Regions from separate parts of the Homo sapiens genome. Here all the other regions are linked to region 1. Evidence: promoter capture Hi-C in human tissues and cell types (Jung and others, 2019). All regions are on one chromosome and are shown on one strand. The core of a region is centred on a gene start or on the middle of the fragment in contact, and the rest is flanking DNA. Distances in the headings are between cores, read along the strand shown.

Evidence for each region. Contacts are between HindIII fragments. The study calls those that stand out against the background at their distance.
Region 2: a contact is called between a fragment that was not itself captured here and the fragment with the promoter of FOXN4 in region 1, in 1 of the 25 tissues and cell types used here (hippocampus).
Region 3: a contact is called between a fragment that was not itself captured here and the fragment with the promoter of FOXN4 in region 1, in 2 of the 25 tissues and cell types used here (bladder and liver).

Annotation. Positions count from the first base shown.
Region 1 is chr12:109,307,770-109,310,938 of GRCh38, reverse strand. It overlaps FOXN4 (forkhead box N4), which reads left to right and starts at 1,655. Exons shown (of 10, transcript NM_213596.3): 1 at 1,655-1,820; 2 at 2,615-2,703. The coding sequence starts at 2,618. It also overlaps a transcript of MYO1H not described here. The HindIII fragment of the contact is 10,264 bases long and covers 1-3,169 here.
Region 2 is chr12:109,252,471-109,255,639 of GRCh38, reverse strand. ACACB (acetyl-CoA carboxylase beta) reads right to left here. Exons shown (of 53, transcript NM_001093.4): 43 at 2,482-2,625; 44 at 1,306-1,426. Among named protein-coding and RNA genes, the nearest start is that of FOXN4, 55 kb to the left of the region's middle. The HindIII fragment of the contact is 6,394 bases long and covers 1-3,169 here.
Region 3 is chr12:109,350,456-109,353,624 of GRCh38, reverse strand. The region is part of intron 1 of MYO1H (myosin IH); the gene reads right to left. Among named protein-coding and RNA genes, the nearest start is that of MYO1H, 4.1 kb to the right of the region's middle. The HindIII fragment of the contact is 3,824 bases long and covers 1-3,169 here.

The DNA.
Region 1 (3,169 bases), core at 406-2,905:
CCACTTTCCTAACCGGTCAAAACACACATTTTAAATACATGCTGGTCGCGGGAGATGAAAACTGAGAAAGTTTCATGACTGTGACCTCAACTAACATCTGTAAACTACATCTTTTTCCTCCCTAGAGAATGAAAGCTGATCTATTTACTCCTGGCAGAGAAGAAAGGAGGAAGGACGTCCAGGTGCTACCAGAAAACCATTTGTGAGGACATGGACCAGTGCCAAGGTCACAGCCCACCTGAATAGAACTTGAAATCCAGGCACACCCAGTCCAGGGGAGCCCTGAGTTCTTCCTGAACTTAAACACTGGGTTTAAAAAAAAAAAAACAGTCACAGGTGCGGGGACACTGGTCCCCTGCCTGCTGCGAAGTAGATAACGCGAGGACAGCCTCAAAACAACTCCAGACGCTTCGGGTGCCTGAGCCTCACTCGGTGGGGGCGGCGCAGAGGTCCACGTGCAGTACGCGAGCTGGGGAGGTGCGGGAGCCCGCGCTCTGCCCGTGCGCCGCCGACCCACTCACTGCCGCTCGGGGCTTTGGGTTCCCCCCATGCAAAAGGAGGACCATGCTATGTCATCAAGGGCTGATGCGAAGAAGAACCCAGAAGCAGGCGTCAATAAGTAACGAAAGAATGGGGGTAGCCGTGCCTAATATCGTTGCTGCCGTGGCAATTACTGCAACGGAGGCTTGAGAGTTAGGGCGCCAGAAACGCAAACTTTCCAGGGGACCAAACTCATCCAAGCCTCCTAAGGGGCCTGTGGAGACCTCTGCCCGCTCTGGGCCCCGCCGCCGTCCGCGGTCCGCGCCACCTTTCCCGCGGCTGGCTCCAGGCGGGGCGGGGCAGCGGCGGCGCGGGCCGGGCGGCGGGGAAGGGAGGGAGCGCGGTTGCACACGCGGGCCACTGCCCCCAACGGCTGCGCTGGGCTCGCGGCGCCGTACCCCGAACGCCGCAGCCTCCGCCTCCGCCGCCGCCGCCACCGCCACCGCCACCGCCGTCGCCGTCGTCGCGGCTGCCGGGGCCGCCGAGCCCCGCCGCACTCGCTCCGGGCGGGCTCACCCTCCTCGCGGGACAGGGGGGCGCAGCGCGCAGTCCCGGGGAGCCCTCCTCGCCTCGCCGCCGCGCTGGGCCCGGGCCCCCCCTCGCGGCCCCAGCAGGTGGAGGCGCCCCGCGCCCCGCTCCGCAGCCCCCTCCCGCTGCGCGCCAGCCCGCGCGGGCGCAACTTTCTTAAAGGGACAGGTGGACCGAATCCGCGTCCACCTGGGGCCCCGTCTCTGCCTCCCGGCCCGTCCTCCACTTTGGGGGAGAGAGGGGGTTGCAACAGATCTCTCCGCCCGCCCACGTCCTTTGCCCCAGGCGGGATTGCAAGTTTTAATGCACCCAGCCTCCTTTTGCAACTTAATTCCCTTGGCCGAAATCACCCTCCCACTGCTCCTCAACGCATGCTCTCGGGCATGCAGTTGTTGTCACTGTTGGCAAAGTTTGAAGAGGGGTCCCTACCCCTGCACTCCTCCGCCCCGCCCCCCTCACACACACCCCCCCCCCAGAACCCCGGGGCGTGCAAGGCTCGCGGCTGCTGGGAAACGCCCGCTGCAATCCCCTTGACCCTGCCCTGTAACTGACCCTTGGGGAAAAGCCCCCCGCACGGCTACTGCGCATGCTCTGAGCTGGACAGCTCCAGAGAGGGAAATTTAAAAACGGTTCGAGCTGCGACGGCGGCCAAATTGCGGAACGCGAGGGGCGAGCGCGAGGGAGCCCCCCTCCGGAACCCCTGCCCACCCCCGGAGCGCCGGCAGCGGCGGCCCCGCGAGGATCGGCTCCAGGTACCGCCTTGCAGGGTCGGCTTTGCTCCCTCCTCCCGGGCAATGCCGGGCATTGCATTTCCAGGGTAGAGACCCGGGCGCAGGGGCTGCGGGGCCGCCTCCCTCTGCTCCCTTTTCCTCCTTCCTGGGAATCCTTCGATGGCTTTGGGGGCGGAACTGAGGCTTTGGTGGGCTTTTATGTTGGTTCAGGCTTGGAGTTTGAGAAACTTAGGGAACTCAAATATTTTTATTATTTTTTTAAGGCAGTGTTTGTGTGTTGCGGGGACGTGGGTGGTTGGATTGGTTTTCCAGTAAGGGCTTGTGGCATTTCTGAAGGCATTTCAGGGCAGGAGCTTGCGGGGATTATTCCCTTTGCAAGTGGGAATTTGTTCCCCCAGAGAAATACACATGTCACATCCAGCTGCCCCTTATTTTGAAAGTGATCATAACCAAACTGAGGTTGAAAATATAAGGCTTGGAAGGAAATCGTTTTTCTGATTCCTATTTTGTGAGTCCACATTTTCCAGGTTTGACATTTGGATTCTAGAGCTTCCCTTGCTCTTCCCCCATTAATTCGAAAGAACCGGGAATTTCATTTCATTCTCTTCATTTGTTTCTAAAACGCTGTAGAATTGCCCTGGGAAAGTGACCTGAGATGCCCAGGAATCCTCTAGAACTTTTTTCTTTAAAGAAAAAAAAAGTGTTCTGTGAGTTGATTGTGCTCCATCTTTCTGAATTGCGGGAAAACTGTGGGTTTCTGCCCTGTCCATATCGTCGCTGATGGGAGCTTTGTTTTCTGCTTGTCTTTTCCCAAGGAGATGATAGAAAGTGACACCTCATCCATAATGTCAGGAATTATTCGAAACTCAGGGCAAAATCACCACCCCTCTCCACAGGAATACAGGTGAGGGCTCCAACAATAACAAACTATATATTTTTTAATTGCTCAAAGTGTTTGTATGCTGTTTATGGTTTCTGAAACTGCCCAAGAACTATTGTTATGTTCAATTCTGTGATTTTTGCGGGAGAGCTGGAAAGTCTTGATTTCAATGTTGGTCTTGCTAAGGGTGTCTGGGCCACAACCTGGCCCAGTGGGACCACGAAATGCCTGCTGTCTCTTGTCCCCTCCAAAAGAGGTCCGTTTCTGCATTTGATACTGTTTGGGCATCCTGGTGAATGTTAAGATGACAATAGCAGCTACTGCTTCCCCTCCAGTGGCCTTAATGGGGGCTGTGGGAAATGCTCCCCCACCCCCTGCCAAAAAAAAACCTTCTGGGAGGAATTGGGTTCTATCCTCCACAGATGTTAAGAAAGTAGTCAGATATGCTAAGTTCTCAGCCAGGCTGTGTGACATTCAGCAAGTCCTTTGC
Region 2 (3,169 bases), core at 177-2,676, 55 kb after region 1:
GAAATGATGACTTAAATCCATGCAACAGCGTAAATGGCTGTGGCTCTGACCAGGAGGGGGCAGCCAGAGTAAGAGGCATCTCAGGCATGGGAGGCCCGGCACCCAGGCATGCAACAGCACAGCTTCAGCATCTGCCGAGGACTGGCCTGACAGTGAGAAGCCGAACATTTTTTAATTGAGATAAGCAGCCCCCTCAGTGTTTACAGGCCAGAAAGCCCAAGAGAAATGAAAAGCAAGAGAAGGAAGCCACAGGACTCCTTGCACTGGCTGGAGTCTAGCACACTCCCGAGGGTCACCTCTCCTGCATTGCACAGCCAAGGAGCAGCCAAGTCTAAAGGTAGCAGCATGTGAAATTCTAGATTTGGGATATAGTGACGGGAGCAGCTCAACTTTCCTGTTGTGTTCTGGTTGCTCAGACTGAAATAATATACCTCCAAGAGAGAAACTCATCCCTTTCAGAGAGAGAATGTGTGTGTGCAAAAATGTGTGTGCATGTGCATGTGTGTTCACGTGTCCACGTGCGTGTGTGTGTGTGTGTGTGTGTAGGTATAGAAGAGGTAAAATTGGCCAGGCATGGTGGCTCATGTCTGTAATTCCAGCACTTTGGGAGGCTGAGGCAGGCAGATCACTTGAGGTCATGTGTTCAAGACCAGCCTGGCCAACATGGTGAAACTCCGCCTCTACTAAAAATACAAAAATTAGCTGGGTGTGGTGGCAGGCACCTGTAATCCCAGCTACTCGGTAGACTGAGTCAGGAGAATCACTTGAACCCAGGAGGTAGAGATTGCAGTAAGCCAAGATCGCGCCACTGCACTCCAGCCTGGGCGACAGAGCAACACTGTCTCAAAAAAAAAAAAAGAAGAGGAGACCAGATTGCCTATCCTGTGTAAACTCACAGAGTTCCTTTGTAAGAGAGAAAGAAAGAGAAAGATGCAGTCTTCTCTTTGAAACTCTGATGTTTCAGCACTGAATTTTCTACTGATGAGACAGTGGGGCAGTTAGAGACCACGGAGCATGGAGCATCAGGGGAGGGAGACCAGGACCACCATTGCACCCCACCTCCATCTATTAGCTCCAGAAACTGGAGGCTGTTTCCACCCCTTCTTGGTCAATGGCTCAGGAAAAGCCTAGAGTAAAATCTCCATTTCTCTACTTTCCCTGCATTTGATTTCAGGTATACCTCTCTGGGATATGAGAACGAATATCAAGCCTTTGTCTCAAGCGCTTGAGACAAAGTGCTCCTTTGTCTCAAGCCCTAGAAAGAAACCCGAGACCAGGTCCTAGGCAAAATACTTTAGAACTTACTTGGGTGAGGCCTTCCTGCAAGCATCCACCGGGGGTCGTAGGGAGCTCTGGATGGGAGGAATTCAATTTCTCTGTCAATGGGGTCAGTGGGTGTGATGATAGGGACAGGGCTGTGATTATCCTAAAAAAGAAAGCCAAGTCTCTGACTTAGTCTGTGGTGCTTGTCAATAATACCTCTGATCAGCACTTTGCTCCTCTGACTATGATTATGCCTGGTTATGCAGCAATATCCCCTCCCTAGGGCTCCTGAAGCCACTGCTCTGATTGGAAAATGCCAGATAAGGACTGGCCATCCCATGGATTCTTCTGAAATCTAGTTTATGAACTCCTGAGTGTGCTTCCCGGTTCAGATGGTGTCACTGATGCTGGGAAGTTACAGAAACGCAGGAAAGGGTTGCTACTGCTATATATGGTCAGATAGGAGGAAAAACATCTTAAAAGAAAGAAAAAGAGATTGGTTGCAGAGAATGGTAACAGATGGCATGCAGATGGGGAAAAGGGGCACTTGGGAATACAAACTGACATTTGTGACTTGGGGTTCTTGGCAGAAGATCTGGAATGACCTGAACTCTGTAAACCCAACCTCTCAGAAATGGTTATAATGAAGAATGACAACCTCACTCATTTGTAAGGAATGTTACAGTTAACCAAGAACTGTGCCCACGATTGTCCCCTTCTTACTTTGGTGAGGACCTACCAAACGTTGTGCTTTAAATATCACTTCACTTAATCATCATGATAACACCATGAGTTAGGTGCTATTATTATTCTCATTTCACAGATGAGGAAACAGGCTCAGAAAAACTTAGGGACTCTCCCAGTGTCTTACAGCTACCGAGGAGGAAGGCAGGAATCAAATCCAGCCTGACTGTAAAGCTTAAAGACTCAGTATTGTCCAATGCTGCCTCTTGTCAAGAGGCAATACTACCTCTTTCTAAAGGATTAACAGATAGCATCCTTACAATGGCATTAGTGCCACCAAAAGAGCAAAGGACACCTAGTACAGGGCTGGGCATCAGAGAAGGAAGAAGGAGTAAGAAAAATCAACCCCAGCCACATGTGCAGTGCTTCCTGCTCCTCAGCCTCCCACACCACCCAGGAGGTGACAGGGACAGAATTAGCCAATGAGCTTAATAAGAGTCTTCCAGGTTCTAAGCTGCAGGGGGAGTACTGCACCTTTGGCATATAGGACAGCCACTCCAGGATGGTATAAACCCCCTCAAAGTCATCTGGCACGGTGATGTGGGAGACACCATTGTAATGCATGATCTGAACGCCACCCAGCTGGTTGTTGGATGTGTAGACCTCTCTTCCCAGGACCTGCTTTGACACAACATGGTTAGCAATGTCCTGCACGGTGCAGGGCTCTACCACCTGTTTGGAAATCATCTCAGTGCTTCTCAATCCTGGCTACACATTAGAATCACCCAGGAGATTTCACAAATCCTGATGCTCAGGCTACATCCAGACCAATTATATCAGAATCTTCGAGGAATTAGTTTTTGTGTTTTGTTTGTTTTTTAGTTTCTAGATAATTCCAATATGCAGGCCAATTTGAGAACTGGTGATGCAGCTGACTTCTACCTTGACCATCTCAAAAGCAAAACCCTAGCTAGTGTTTCTGATTCAGCAGGTCTGCAGCAGGGCTTGAGGATGTGCATTTCTGACAAGTTCCCATCTGATGCTGATGCTGTTGGTTCAAGAACCAGGCTTTGAGACTTTGGCTGAGATTTGAGCAGACATTAAGTATAGAGACTTTTCAACAAGGAAAATGTTTTAATACAGTGAAAAAAGTAGAATACAAAACTGCATATTCACTATAAATTAACCACATAAAGACAGAAGATGAGAGGGAACTATACCA
Region 3 (3,169 bases), core at 432-2,931, 43 kb before region 1:
GGTGTATAAATAATACTCGGATAACATTTTATATATTGTTTTAGATCATTTTAAAAATAACGTGATTCATCTTTATAAATTAAGAACGACACACCTAAATATATTTCAAATATCACATCATTTAGATTTGAAACATCTAGAATTACAAGTTTAGGAATCAAAATTCAAGCAACAGTTTATTTCCCGGTAAGTTCTATAACCACAATTTTTTTTTTTTTTTTTTTTTTTTTTGAGACGGAGTCTCGCTCTGTCACCCAGGCTGGAGTGCAATGGCGCAATATCGGCTCACTGCAACCTCCGCCTCCCGGGTTCAAGCGATTTTCCTGCGTCAGCCTCCTGAGTAGCTGGGATTACAGGTGTGTACCACCATACCCGGCTAATTTTTGTCTTTAGTAGTGATGGAGTTTCACCGTGTTGGCCAGGCTGGTCTCAAACTCCTGACCTCAGGTGATCCATCCACTTCGGCCTCCCAAAATGCTGGGATTACAGGCATGAGCCACTGTGCCCAGCCTCACAATAATATTGTTTATGAGTATTTGGGGCAAGTACCCTTGATTATAGTATTAATATTAAGGACTAAAATTATTTTCATCAACAAATGTTACCACTTGAAGACTCTACTAAAACTGGTATTATATTGGGTGGGGGCATGAGAACACCTTTTGAGGTAATAGTGGGGCTGTGTCTCAATAGGGATTTGGGTCACACAGGTATATACCTTCATCAAAACTTACCAAATGAAATATCCAAGGTTAGTGCTTTAGATTGTATATACTATTTACCTCGAAAGAAAAAACACTGAACACGAGCTAATGGCAGGTGTGCAAAGCATTTAGGGGAAGTATGCTGATGTCTGCAACTTTCTTTGAAATCTATCCCCCCAAAATAAGATACATTAGTGGTTACAGGGATAGATAGATGAAAAATAAGCATAAGTAATAGGTTAATGGTAGAATCTAGGTAGTGGGTGTTTTCTGTACAATTTCTTCTTTTCTGTATGTTTAACACACTTCATCATACATGTCGGGGAGAAAAATAATCTGTTAGATCTATGCTAAAAGGCTCAAGAGATGTCTATAACGAGACACGCAAGATGTAGCAAAAGTGTATGTAATAAGGATTCTAGTTTCGTAGAATAAACAATGATGAAAATACATTCATGTATGTATGTGGGTAGCTACCCAAATAGCCCCATATGTTTCTATGACCATGGAGACAATTACATAAAGACCCTGGGGGAAGGAGGTGGAGAGTGGGAGGTGAGAGATGAGGGCTGAATATGCTCATGCACACGAAGAAATGCAAGATGCATGGGCCTCAGCATGCCGTTGTTAGCCAGGGCTGGCAGAATTTCAAATCATTGTCATTTTCTTACAATTTCCTATACCGTTTAAAAGATCCTTTCTACAATGGTCATTTATCATTTATGTAATTAAAAAGCTATTTTTATGGAAAAAAATAAAAGTGGTATTATGAACAGAGCCAGGCTTATGTGACGACAAGGAATCCATTCCCCAAAAGAGAAAAAAGGCTTCATCTTCTGGACTGTATTGAGAGAAACTTCTTGTCCCACTCACTAGTAAAAGTTACATTCTGAAGCAAAGAGAGCAAAGCATATCTTATGGAATCCTGAATGTCTAGAAAATAGCGTGGAAGGGAAAATAGAGTTTCCTTTTCTACATATGACAGCGATGAGTAAAAGCATGCAGTAATTTGAAGCAGCATCTCCAACCACCGTGGAATCTTCCACATTAGATGGTGCTTTTACCAAGCAGAGACTAAATGAAATAATTTTGTGGCATCTGCAAAAACTACTATTAGAAACATTTACTCCAGAATCCGTGTTTTCGGCTTAAGAAGCAAATGATGACACTGGAAATTTGAGTGACTCTAACAGGGACATAAATGTGATTGCAATCATCCTAGCCATGGGGGCTTTCTTCTTATTTTTCAAGTGAACCCAGCAGCTGAACAACCAATCAGCAAATATTTTCTGAGCATCTACTGTGTGCAAGGCATTATAGAAGGTACCTGGTCCCCAGGAATTTACAATCTCTTTAGAAATATAACGCAATTACAGGAGCAGTGAACAAGGCACCAGTTCTGGACACAATGTCTAATCTTTTAGATGGCTTTTAAACAGATACCAATAAAAAGATGGTTAATTAGGAAGTTACCTTAAAATATTGTCATAAGTGTCTGCGGTGAAACTGTGTGATTTGGCTTTTTCCCCCCACGGTTTTGATATAAAATGTTTATTTTGTTAGTCAAAAGATAAGGTAAGATAGTAGAGGCTGATGGGAGGAAAGTGTTCATATTTTTACCTGGCATAAGAGTTTTTACGGTAATAATATAAAAACATCCTGGCCAGGTTTAAATTCAAGCTTTGATGTGAAAATCAGTGATAGTAAGATCAGTTGCAAAATTAAAAATAAAGGTCTCTGAAATAAGATCCAGGAAGCAATTTATCTAACCCAGTTATGTGCTGAACCCAACATATTACTTGTACACCACTTCACCCATCTTCTAGTGAACCTGCCTACTAATGGAACATGAGAATGAGTCTATTCAAGGCTTAATGAGCTTAATTAATTAGCACTTATGACACTCAGGGTAAAAATAATTACTGATGGTGGTTGTTCCATAAATCTACAGATGTAACAAAATGGCATGTAACTGTATATGCACATTGTACCAGCATTATTTGTCCTGGTTTAGATATTGTGCTCTAATTATGTAAGATGTAACGATTGAGGGATATTTGAGACCTCTCTGTATTATTTTTGTTACTTCTTGTGAGTCTATCATTATTTTAAAATAAAAATCTTTTTTAAATTACCTATATCACTTTGATTCTTTGATGTGTTATAAAGTCAGGAAAACATATTTGAACCATGGAAAAGTGCTCATCTGAAACAGTAGAAGCCACCTTCTATAAATATTGAATGAACATGGATATAAGCCATGAGTCTCTTCCTCATTATCTGACAGGGAGCTTTATTAGTTCGTTTTCACGCTGCTAATAAAGACATACTTGAGACTGGGCAATTTACAAAGGAAAGAGGTTCCATGCACTCACAGTTCCACGTGGCTGGGGAGGCCTTACAACCTCGGTGGAAGGTGAAAGCCATGCCTCACATGGCGGCAGAGAAGAGAATGAGAGCCAAGC